Linked DNA regions of Homo sapiens: regions 2 and 3 are each linked to region 1. The links are contacts of gene promoters, found by promoter capture Hi-C in blood cells and fetal thymus (Javierre and others, 2016). All regions are on one chromosome and are shown on one strand. Each heading gives the region's core, a stretch centred on a gene start or on the middle of the fragment in contact. The rest is flanking DNA. Distances are from core to core; before and after follow the strand shown.

Region 1 (4,307 bases), core at 1,180-3,679:
CTGATCTACAAATCAATCTGAAAGCATCCGCTTGAGACTCCAGCAAACACAACTTGCTTCCTATCACTATCAATTCCGTGACTCACCCTACACCGTGGCACACCCTCTGCTAACAAAGCCTCACCCTCCTCTGAAACCACAAGAATCCAGTGAACCGCTTAAGGACCAGCTCGCAGGCCATCCCTTGCTCCCTTCTCCGAAAGCCGTTTCCCCGGCGTGACCACGGTCACCCTACTACATGGTAACCTGTTTTCTCCCTCCCCACATCTCTGCACTCCATAGCTTCTCCAACTAGGCTGCGAATCACAATTGATGCCTTTGCACCCAGTCCGTCGCTTGACACCTTACAAACAACGGTGTGAAACAGTGATTAAAAAACAGTGACAAGCTGAACTCTCATCTCCAGCAGGAAATATTCCTAAAGCAGCACGTCAGTTCTCAAAGCCTGGTCCCTGACGGGCAGCATCTGGACTGGCTGGGAACAGAAATTACGGGGTGGGGAGCGGCTCTCAGCCCTCCCGAGTTAGAAGCCGACTGGAAGCAGCCCTCCAGCTGATTCTCATCATCTCCAGGGCCTGAAACCCACGGCGGCGCGCTGTGCTGGTCACTAAATACCTGGGGGGCTCAGCGCTCTACGTCCAGGTTTCCCAGCACAACTCTGGTTTTCAGCTTTATCTCCTTCCAGTTTCAAAACCACCTCAGTCTGGATATTGAATTCTTAAAGTCAGAAAGCAAGTGTGTGCTTCCAATAACCACACTCGCTGGAAATCACCTCTCCGATTCGCTACCAGCTCTGCCAAAGACGCTTCCACCTAACGTCCCTCCGGCGCTGAGCTCAGGACCACGCCGTGCACGTGGGAACCACCACCGCGCCACACGCCTAAAAACCGTTGAGCGGTACATTCTATGCGAGCGGGGTCTCTCTGGCCACAACTTAAAAACGAAAAGAAAAGCGCTCAGAGAACAGGCTGCGCAGGGGTGCAGCCGGCTTTGCCCTGGAGGCCGCCGGGGCTGAAGACGGCGAGAGCATCCATCCCAGGACGCCACCGCCCCGCCGCCCCTTTCCCTCCACAGGTGCCAAGGGCCGGGCCGCCAGCACCCGCGAGGACCCCCGGGCCTCGCAGAGCCCGGCCGTCGCGGTCGCCGCCTCACTTGGGGTCCTCCGGAGTTCCGTCCTCTTCCCAACGTCCGGCTCCCAAGGCTCCCGGGGGCGCAGCGCAGCGGCGGCGGACGCGGGAAGGGGCCCTCGCCCTCCGCAGAGATCGCGCCCCGCGGCCGCGTGGGTAGTGCGGGAGGTCCCGAAGGCCCTCCTGCAGAGCTCTCAGGTCCCCGCAGTCTCACGCACGGCCGCCAATGCGGAGACCTCCGCCCCCGCACCCCCGGCAACTCAGGCCTCAGCCTCTCACCCCGGCCCCTGCACCTGGGACCTCGCCCCCGCACCCCGGCCCCTGCACCCCCGCACCCCGGCCCTACAGCCCCGGCAAGTCGGGCCTCAGCGCTTCCCCCCGGCCCCGCACCCCCCACACCTGATACATCGCCCCCGCACCCCGGCCCCTGCACCCCAGGCTCCTGCATCTCCCAAACCTGGGACCTCGCCCCCGCACCCGGCTCCTGCATCCCCCGCACCTGGGACCTCGCCCCCGCACCCGGCTCCTGCATCTCCCACACCTGGGACCTCGCCCCCGCACCCGGCTCCTGCATCCCCCGCACCTGGGACCTCGCCCCCGCACCCGGCTCCTGCATCTCCCACACCTGGGACCTCGCCCCCGCACCCGGCTTCTGCATCTCCCGCACCTGGGACCTCGCCCCCGCACCCGGCTCCTGCATCTCCCACACCTGGGACCTCGCCCCCGCACCCGGCTCCTGCATCTCCCGCACCTGGGACCTCGCCCCCGCACCCGGCTCCTGCATCCCTTGCACCTGGGACCTCGCCCCCGCACCCGGCTCCTGCATCTCCCACACCTGGGACCTCGCCCCCGCACCCGGCTCCTGCATCTCCCGCACCTGGGACCTCGACCCCGCACCCGGCTCCTGCATCCCCCGCACCTGGGACCTCGCCCCCGCAACCCGGTCCCCGCACCTCGAGCCTCACCTCCACATCCCGGACCCCCAGCCGCCGCCCCCGCATCCCGGCCCCCGCACACCTAGCACCTCAGCCTGGCCCCGCACCTTGGACCGCTGCCCTCGCCCTAGTCCTGGTCCTTGCACCTCAGCCCGAGGCCAACAGCCCCAACGGCTCCCGCGGAGATCCCTCCGCGCCGCCGACCTCCCAGGACCTCCTTCGGCCCGCGCCCACCTCGCCTTCGGCGCTGGGTTCCCGAGAGAGCCAGGGACACGCGGGCAGCGAGCAACAGGCGCTCTTTTCCCGGGCGGATGAACACCGCCTCCCGGGCGCCGGCCTCGTGTCTGTACGCCATACGCCCAGTAACGGCGGAAAGCGGCGCGCGCCACGCCCTCATTGGCTGCCCCGCAAACGGCGGTTTCTGATGTGGCCGGGGCGGGACCAGAGGAGCCCCGCCCCACAGGCCCCGGCCCCGCCCCTCCAAGACCCCGTCTGGCCCCTCCCGGACACCCGGCACAGGCCCAACAAGCCAGGCCCGCCCCGCCCCACAGGCCCTGCCCCTGGCCCCCCAAGACACCGCCTGGCCCCGGACAGACACCCCGCACATGCCCTGGCCCCTCCCCATAGGCCCCGCCCCCATCCCGCCAAGACCCCGCCTGGCCCTGCCTAGACGCCACGCCCAGGCCCCCACAGGCCCCGCCCCCGCCCCACAGGCTCCGCCCCTGTCCCCCCAAGACCCCGCCTGGCCCCGCCCAGACACCCAACACGTGCCCTGCCCCCTCCCCACAGGCCCCGGCCAGCCCCACCCAGGCCCCGCCCTGTTCCTCTTCTGCTTCGCCCAGACCCCCGGCCTTCCCTGGCTTGACTCCTGCAGTTCCCCCAGTGCCAGCCCCCTGCAGGCGGACACGGGGTCGGGCCAGTTCCCTACTAGCTCGTGGAACTGGGCGGCGGCGCACGAAGTAGACCCTCCATAGACTTCGAAATGGTGCCCACGTGGGCACCGAGCGCCCTACTGTAGCAGTGGACTCGATCTTGGTCTGGCCTTTAACGTCGGAAGCTCTTTCACTCAGCACACAGAGATTTGAACTTTGACCCCAAAGAAAATAAAACTGCAATGCAAGTCTAAGGTGCCAGGAGGCCGTTACCTGGAAATTTAGCTTTCAATGACTTGTGCCTTGGGTGCATGCCAACGTGGACCGCAGGGGTTCTCAGCCTTCACCTGCGGGGGATCACCTGCAGGGCTGGTTAGGACACAGACCAGAGATTCCGGTCTGCAGGCTCCACAGGTGGGCCCCGCCGGCTGCATTTCCAAGGCATCGCAGGTGGTAGCGACCGGGTCTACGCCGAGCTAGGTGCCCTCCATAGGAGTTAATTTCCTCATGGAGGCAAAGTCAACAGCCACAAAACAACCGGAAATATTGTAAGATAGAACAGGTTTATTTGTCAAGGTGGAAGTGGGACTGAGGCTCACTAACTGCCTGACCTGTTATGTTCCATAACTATAAACATGATTGTAGGAGGTAGTAGAAATAGGGTCGCCTCTGCAGACAGGTTTTAAAACTGCATTTATACGGTAAACATAGTGCTTTTCCTTTTTTTTTTTTGTGAGACGGAGTCTCACTCTGTCGCCCAGGCTGGAGTGCAGTGGCAGGATCTTGGCTCACTGCAACCTCCGTCTCCCAGCCTCCTGAGTAGCTGCGACTACAGGCACCCACCACCATGCCCACATAATTTTGTGTTCTTTGTTTTGTTTTGAGACAGGGTCTGGCTCTGTCAGGCTGGAGTGCAATGGTGGGATCATGGCTCCCTGCAGCCTCGACCTCCTGGGCTCAGGTGATCCTCCTGCCTCAGCCTCCCCTGTAGCTGGTACTACAGGTGTGTGCCACCTGTAGTAATTTTTTTGTATTTCTTGTAGAAATACGAGAAATACACCCAGCTAATTTTTTTGTATTTCTTGTAGAAAGAGGGTTTCATCATGTTGCCCAGGCCGGTCTCAAACTTCTGGGCTCAAGTGATCCACCCATCTTGGCCTCCCAATGTGCAGGGATTACAGGCATAAGCCACAGAGCCCGGCCTACATATTGCTTATTATTCATACTTAAAAGCGCATGCCTGGGAATCGGGGGCTGGAGAGGGCTGAAGGCTCCCCAAGCCACCTTCCCAAATCCTACGTCTCATCTGTGCCATGAAAGGGGCAGGTTAGATGTCAGCGTTTCCCACACTAGCCTGAGTGTAAGCATCCACT
Region 2 (4,120 bases), core at 1,317-3,816, 260 kb after region 1:
TGAAACCTTTCACTGGAAGGCTGGGCTCAGCTGGGACTGTCTATCAGAGCATCTTCATGTGAAAGCTCCAGTTATGAGGCAGTTGAATATCTTACACAGCAGCCAAGGGCTCCGACCATGAATGTTCCAGCAAATGAGGTGGGAGCTACACCAGCTTTGTGGACCCAATCACAAGCTGGCTCAGATTCAAGGGTAGGAGAGGAAGACTCCATCTCTCAGTGGAAGAATATCAAAGGATTTCCTTCTGGTCCTAAGACCTCTCCATTCCCCAAAGCTAGATTCATGGCCACCTCCTCTAATAGGTCTTTCTTCTGTACCCCAAACCATATTGATCTCTCCCTCCTGGTAACTTTAGTAACTCATTCATTTGGCATTTTTTCACCTTCTGCCCAAGTTTACTGTGTAACTACCTGGTGTGTGGGGGTGACTCTTGTGCATTGAGACCATCAGCTTTTGTGCACAGATACATCTCTTGTCTTCTATGGTCATCTAACCCAAGAGGCATCCTATGCCTGTGTCTGTGTTGCCATCTCTCTCTCTTTTTGAATCGATCTCTGTCGTTTTTCTCTATTTGTCTCTTTTTCTCTTTATCTCATTGGAGGCAATATTTATATAAGTGATTAGGAGCTTGGGTTTGAGAATTGCAGAGACTAGTTACTGGATTTATGGCTCTTCCCAACTATGTGGCCTTAGGCAAAGGGCTCATGTCTCAGTTTCCTCATTTGAGAAAAAGGAAATCGTGATGACTCTTAAATAACCAAATGCATGCCAAACTCTGAACACTGCATGATGTTTTGGCTGTGTCCCCATCCAAATTTCATCTTGAGTTGTAGCTCCCACAATCCCCACATGTCATGGGAGGATCTGGTGGGAGGTAATTGAATCATGGGGGCAGTTGCCCTCATGCTGTTCTCATGATAGTGAGTGAGTTCTTAAGAGAGTTGATGGTTTTATAAGGAGCTTTTCCCCCCTTTGCTCAGCACTTCTCTCTCCTGCCGCCTTGTAAAGAAGGACATGTTTGCTTCCTCTTTTGCCGTGATTGTAAGTTTCCTGAGGTCTTTCCAGCCATACAGAACTGTGAGTCAATTAAACCACTTTTCTTTATAAATTATCCAGTCTTGGATATTTCTTCATAGCAGCGTGAGAATGGACTAGTGCATTGCACCTGGCATAGACTTGTGTTTGAAACTGGCATCTACCATGACCACCACCATCCTTATCACTATCACTTTCATTTTGTGTATTTTTATTTTGCTTTATATAGATCTAGCTCCACATTAAATAAAGCCCAATGGTGGACGGGGGAGTGTTCCTAAAGAGTGGGTGTTTCCTGGACCCATTTACTCAAGGAGAAGGACAGATGGATAAGCGTTTACAAAACAAACAGCCTACAGGAAGTCTGGAAACTGTTTCAAAAACAGTCTATAACAGCAACCAAAAAAAAAAAATGTGTAGATGGTGATGTAATCTCTCTGGTAAAAGAGGAAAAGCAAACGGATATTGTCTGCGTGTAGAGCCGTGGGGCCACTAGGGCAGGATTTCCATTCTTAGAGGGCTCCTGGGACTGCCTTTGTCTGGCACTGGCCAGGGCTCTCACACCTCATCAGGGTTTGCAAAGACAACTTCTCACTTCCTTGAGACGTGCTTTTCATGGGACACACACTATAATGTGTATTAAGTTACACGTGCAAAAACAAGCACTTATGCATGCTTTAGGGGAAAAAAGACTAGAAGGAAATACACCAAACTGTGAGTGGTGATTATTTCTAGGATGAATACATATTACTTTTATAATCGGGAACAAAACACAATAAAGTACTTTTAAAGCAGATCTACTTTACCAGAGATGGAAAGTATTACAAAAGAAAATGCAGGACATTCACAGAAAGGTCCTAGGGAACCTTCCAATAGGTTCTCGTTCTTCACTTTGCTGACTGATGATCTTAGGAACTGTTTTAAAATTATGAAAATGTGACTTCATCCTGCATTTACTCCACAGCATCTGGAGAAGGAATATTGTAGTCTCATTTTGTTAAATTTTGTTAGTAAATAGGATGACAGTGTATCCTTTAAATTTTTTTTTAAAGCTTGGGTGTCCTTCCCTGAGATACCTGCATGTGAGCCCTGGCTCTGCCACCTCCTGCTCTGTGACCATGAGCAAGTCACTTAACCTCTCTAGGACTCAGTGTCCTCATCTGGGAAATGGGTGCAATGGCAGGGCCGAGCTCATAGGATCATGGGGAGGAATGGATGAGCTACTGCACACTATAACTCTTCTTTCCTGTGACATCCCTTAAACCGTCTCAGTTCTGTCTTCCAGAAGTTGCTCCTACTACCCTGTGGCCCTGGATGATCCCAGCAGAGTCTGCACCCCCTGTCTTTTGTCTTTTGGATCGATCAGGAACTCCTGTCATCTTTTCCTGTAAACAGATCCCCGTTGAACCGAAGTCTCCCTCCACCTCTGTCTCCCCACCTCAGACTCATCCTCCTCTCTAGACCATACCCCCTTGCTGGTCTCCCTGCTCTCATTCTTGCCCTGAAAGCCAGTTCTCTGCTGGGAGCAATTCCTCTAAAACTTAGAACAGGTCCTGCTCCCTCTGCTCCTCCACCATTCCCAACCACGTTTACAACACAATTGAAGTCCCAGCGGGGGCCTGTGAGGTCCTCATCTGCCCCTGGGAGGCACCTAGCTGCTCCAGCCCTAACCCCCCACCCACCAGGCTTTTGCTTGTAGGCCTCCTCTGTGGCAAGGCTTTCCCTGGCCATCCCACCTGAAACACATTCTGTCACTTTCTGTCCCTTTACTCAACGCCCTTCCTTCACAGGATCCACTGCGACTATAGCTCCACGTGGGTGTTTCTGTCCCAGATCTCCTGGTTACTGTCTCTTATTACTTGTTCTTATTTCATTGCTCATAGGAGTTGCATGGTGCGGTTTTGTGGGTGAATGAAAGACATACATTGACTTGTAAGCAACTGTTCCAGAGCAACAGACTCTGGACGTCCCAGCCCATCTGCAACTATTCGACTTGGCCCACAAGCTTTCTGAGGCCAGGCTGCACACGTCATCTGACCCTCCCTTCGGAGGAGCAAGCAAGGATGCAGGAGAATTTGTGGCCCCTAGGAATATCTCTGACGGTGTCTTCATTCACATGCACACTAAAGGGAGCACACCAGCTCCTCCAGACTAGCAGGCCCTGGTGACCTAGTTTCTGTCTTGAGGCTCCCAGACTTCAGGAATATTTATGCTGCTGTGATTGCATTGCTTCCCCCAGTCTTGAGTGCCCTCTGAGCATGTGAGTCCACTGGGAGGTTTGTGTTCACATTACTAAGTGTTCATAGCAATGTGAGGATGACAAGGAAATGACTAGAAACTGCTAAAAGCACAGGGAGGAGGGAAAACACTATGGCCCCTGATCTCCATGGTGTCTCATGTCAAGTGGAGATGTGCACATCGTGTGACCTCGCTGAGTTTCCGCAGGTGCCTCCCGCCTCGGGGGTGGAGGGGGAGCCCTTCACCAGCTCACTAGCCCCACAGGCCAATGTGGAGCCCCATTTTCTAAAGAGATCTCTGGTGGCTTTAAAATATAATGCATTATTTGATGTTCCACCCTTCAAGAGGTGAAAACTAATTCCTCCCCCTTGAGTGTGGGCCAGACTCAGTGACTCACTCCTAAGAAATAAAGCATGGCAGAAGCAATGGTGTGTGACTTCTGTGACTAGGTCATGGAAGTCAGGGTAGTCTCCTTCTTGCTCTCTCTGGGGATCACTCCCTCTGGGAGAAGTCAGGGGCCATGTCACGAGGACATGCAAGCGTTCAGAGCCCAGTGAGCACACCATCTTGGAAGCAGATCCCCCTTCTCCTCCTTCAGTGGCGGTAGCCCATCCTTGGCCAACCTCAGAGAGACCCTAAACCAGAACCCCTGAGCTACGCTGCTCCCAAACTCCTGACCCACAGAAATAAGCAGTGAATGTTTGTTGTTTAAGATGCTCAGTTTGGGAGGTAATTTGTGACCCAGCAGTAGACAACCCGTACCAGATCTCTGCTTCCTGGGACCCCCGTGTTCATGACTGCTTGACAGTTTCCTTTGCTGCACTCACCACCTCTCTGCCCTTTTGGG
Region 3 (3,839 bases), core at 282-2,781, 330 kb after region 1:
TCTGGAGCTTCGATTGGAGAAGAGCATTCCTTAGCACCACTGGTACGGCTAACTTTCTGGTATTAAAAGCTTCTTACCTTTTCTTTTTGTGCAAAATACATGGAGATCTAAAATACTCAGCAAGTGCTCCATGTCCCACACAATTTTCTGACATACTGCTGCTTGCAAGGAGCTTTAAGGAGTCCCCTCTCTACCTTCTTGTTTTTGTTTTAATTGAGGTTACAAAAGGTCTCTCTGGTGGCCTTCAGCTGTCGGTCCCCCTCCTTGCTTCTAGCTATAGGCTCCCTGCCACTTCTGACAGCTCTGTCTGTTTCTGAAGGCCATGGACACTGGCAACTCAAGGGAACTTGGACCAGAGCCACCCACAGTCCAGAGCAGCAGATCTGGCTACCAAAGACCTACTGAGGACCCTCGAGGGTGGTGAGGCTTTGAGGATGAGGATGGGAACGCAAAGGTGGGGTGAGGCATCCCACCACCAAGTGGAGTTTGAGCCTGGAACAGCTAAAGCGATTAATAGAACCATGTCACCGAAAGACACCACCTCCTGGTGATAATTATGTGAAATCTGGATCCAGCCACTGTAATCTGGCCATCCCCTGGGCTTCACGGTTATCTGAGTTAATAAGTTAGCTTTTGGGTTAGGTGAGGCTGGGTTGGGTTTTGTCGGTTGAAATGGAAAGTGTCACATCTTGTAAGGTGAAGATGTGACATTTCCTCGGTGTAGGGAGAGCTGTCTCTGTACACTGTTCCTAACCGGGTGGACAGGTGCATCCTACAGGACTGTGGTGTCTCAAGGCCGTGGGCAGCAAACCCGCCTTGCAAGACATTGCCAGGTGCCCTGAGGTTCAGATGGGAACATTCTTTGCATAGACATTGAGACTATAATGGCAGAGGAATGACAAATCCCTGGGTCACTTGTACATTTCCAGATCCATAATAGTCCTTGAAAACACTTCAACTCATCAATTCTTCCTCAAGGGGGTTTTGAATAGAGCATGCAACACTACAAAGACAAGTTCTTAGCAGTGCCACAAAAACAGTTGACTAAGGGAAAAAGAATGATCTTACGTCAGCTATCTAAGAGTCTAAGACTGATTACAATATCAGGCTGCACCAAAATATTTGGAAGATAGAACATGGGAGGTAAGTCTAAGACTTGCCTTGTTTCTAGAAATAAGTTTCCAAACCCACCTGGAATTATCTTTATGTTCTACTCTTTCCAAATGCCATCAGTCTACTCGTAATAAAAACATCTAAAGTTGATGAAGCACCTCCAATATTTCGGATATTGGTCTACACAGATTATCTCATTTAATCTTCTGATTGGTCTACACAGATTATCTCATTTAATCTTCAAAATGGCTCCATGAGGCAAGGGTTATTCTTATTTCCTGTTACAAATAAGGAAACTGAGGCTTAGAAAATGGTTCTCTGCCAAGCCTTTTCTCGTCAAGTAAAAACACTATATAGCTTACGTGTAAGCCAGATTCAAAGACAGGGAGGCAAGGGCCAGTTTCCAGAAGAAAGGGGTTACTGTTCTTGGGCAAAGGGGATTGTTAAGGAGACAAAAACAAATATCCAACAACACTTTCTGCCAAGCAGACTGTTTTGTGGGTGGTGGATTATAGTGGAAAACAGTCGTCTGGTTTTCTGATATCCGTTTACTCTTCTCCAGGCCGGAGGGATTGATTTGCCTTGGCAAAGGTCACCCCTTCTCTCACTCAGCTCATGTGCTTCAGGTGGAGCTGAACCCAGCTCCTGTTCCAGAAGTGGTTATAAGATTCAGGCCTGATCAATCAGAGGATCACATTCCCCTAAGGATATTGGTTCAGGAGTGGTCATGTGACTCAGGCCTGATCAATCAAAGGATCTCATTCCCCTAAGGATATTGGCTCAAGAGTGGTCACGTGACATGGGCCTGATCAATCAGAGGATCACATTCCCCTAAGGATATTGGTTCAGGAGTGGTCATGTGACTCAGGCCTGATCAATCAAAGGATCTCATTCCCCTAAGGATATTGGCTCAGGAGTGGTCACATGACTCAGGCCTGATCAATCAGAGCTTCACATTCCCCTAAGGATATTGGTTCAGGAATGGTCACGTGACTCAGGCCGGATCAATCAAAGGATCTCATTCCCCTAAGGATATTGGCTCAAGAGTGGTCACGTGACACAGGCCTGATCAATCAGAGCTTCACATTCCCTTAAGGATATTGGTTCAGGAGTAGTCATGTGACTCAGGCCTGATCAATCAGCATCTCCTGCCCCTAAGGATATTGGTTCAGGGATAAGCATGTAATCAATTAGAACCTATGGGACTGAAAGAAGCTAAGTTGATTTTGTTGTTTTATTTACCTATTGCAAAAGAAACACTCCCTCACACTTTCCCCCAGGCTTGACCTGAATGGCATTTGGTTTGGAGCTGTTGGCTGCCATCTGCCCACCGTGTGGGATCTGGGGAAAAAGCTCATGTGGAGACAGGAACACTGAGTCCCTGAGACACTGTGGGTGTTCCTGGATCAAGCGGCTCCTGAAACCCATCTATCCCTCGAGTTTTCAAATAATTGACTCCTAGATAAGTTTGAGCTATTTTTAGCCATTATAACTAAAATAATTATGACAACGATTTAGTTATGGAGAGAGGTTTATAATTCAACTCACATTATTAAGCACCTGCTGCATGCCTGGCTCTGCACACATGTTATCACATGGAATTCATGCGATCATCCTGTGGCCTGTTTTGCTTGATTTTTCAACAGATGCGGGAATGGGGCTTACAGAGGTCAGGTTTTCCCATGTCCTCAGTCCCATTTTTCCCCATCCAAACCACTGTAGCTGCTATTTCCAGTCCTTAAAAGTCCTAGTTTTTTTCCTTCATTTTGAGATATCTTTCCAGAAATGTCTCCTTTATACTACACAGAATGACCCAGGCATATAAGAACAAAATAGGCATGTGAGTGTTGGAGGGGAGTTGGTGGTAAGGATGAAGCTTTCTCCAATCATTGATGTGAAGCAGTCCAGGGACGTGTTGTCATTCTAGCTATTTATGTAAAACAGTTTTCCAAGGAGGGGGGATTTGGACAATGCTCGTAGATCCCTCTCCATGTTTAAGCACAGTAATAAAACTCAGAGCAGCGGGCAAAGCAGGGCCTTGGGGGAAATTTTCTTTGTGGGACTGTAGGGGCAAACTGTGGAACTTCTTCTGACTGTTCCTGTAAATCGGCATGGTGCTGGGAGCTCAGGATGAACCAGATTCTCCCAACAGAATAAAGAATGCCCTTTCCTTTGAACATCATTTCATCATGAGGATTCCGGGTTCAACTGAAAAATGAATTTTCAGTGGCTGCAATTCTCCAAGCTTTGAGCTGCTGGGCACTGGTTTTCCAAGCAGCACCTGGAGCTCGGTCTCTTCTTTGCCATGAACCTCTGCCCAGGTTCGTTATTATGCTTTGATTGAACCGATAATACCCATTCCTGTCAGCAGAATGAGGCAATACACAGTGCTAAGAGGAATCTCCCAGCCTCACACCTCCCAAAGGAAAATACTGCAAGGAAACAGACCCCACTCTTGGAGAGTTCATTGGAGCAAGCTGCATGAAGGAACTGTGTCCAGAGGAGCAAGTAGAGTTAATGAATCCCAGAAGGACAAGGAGGCACCCACAGAGTAAAGGGGAGTGACCATCCCCCAGGCTGAAAGGGCTGGGGAGGCAGCCTATTTCTGGAGCCCAGTGACTGTGAGCTGCAGGAGATGGTGTGCTGAGAGAATGTGGCTGGCAGCAAGGGCGGGAGGAAAATACCTAATCTCTTTTTCCTCTGATCTATCAGCCTCATGTCAGGTA

The links. Contacts are between HindIII fragments. The CHiCAGO score rates a contact against its expected background, and 5 or more counts as called.
Region 2: a contact is called between a fragment that was not itself captured here and the fragment with the promoter of PIWIL1 in region 1, in 3 of 17 cell types (naive CD4 T cells, activated CD4 T cells and non-activated CD4 T cells). The highest score is 9.4, in naive CD4 T cells.
Region 3: a fragment that was not itself captured here is called in contact with the fragment with the promoter of PIWIL1 in region 1 in 3 of 17 cell types (naive CD4 T cells, activated CD4 T cells and total CD4 T cells); the score reaches 8.6 in naive CD4 T cells.

Annotation. Positions count from the first base shown.
Region 1 is chr12:130,336,009-130,340,315 of GRCh38, reverse strand. PIWIL1 (piwi like RNA-mediated gene silencing 1) reads right to left here and starts at 2,429. Exons shown (of 21, transcript NM_004764.5): 1 at 2,170-2,429. It overlaps LOC101927786 (a long non-coding RNA gene), which reads left to right and starts at 4,076. Exons shown (of 3, transcript XR_242978.5): 1 at 4,076-4,307. The HindIII fragment of the contact is 10,112 bases long and covers 1-4,307 here.
Region 2 is chr12:130,074,404-130,078,523 of GRCh38, reverse strand. No RefSeq gene overlaps it. Among named protein-coding and RNA genes, the nearest start is that of LINC02419, 5.1 kb to the right of the region's middle. RefSeq lists an enhancer at 2,399-2,926. The HindIII fragment of the contact is 953 bases long and covers 2,090-3,042 here.
Region 3 is chr12:130,002,763-130,006,601 of GRCh38, reverse strand. No RefSeq gene overlaps it. Among named protein-coding and RNA genes, the nearest start is that of LINC02418, 38 kb to the left of the region's middle. The HindIII fragment of the contact is 2,920 bases long and covers 72-2,991 here.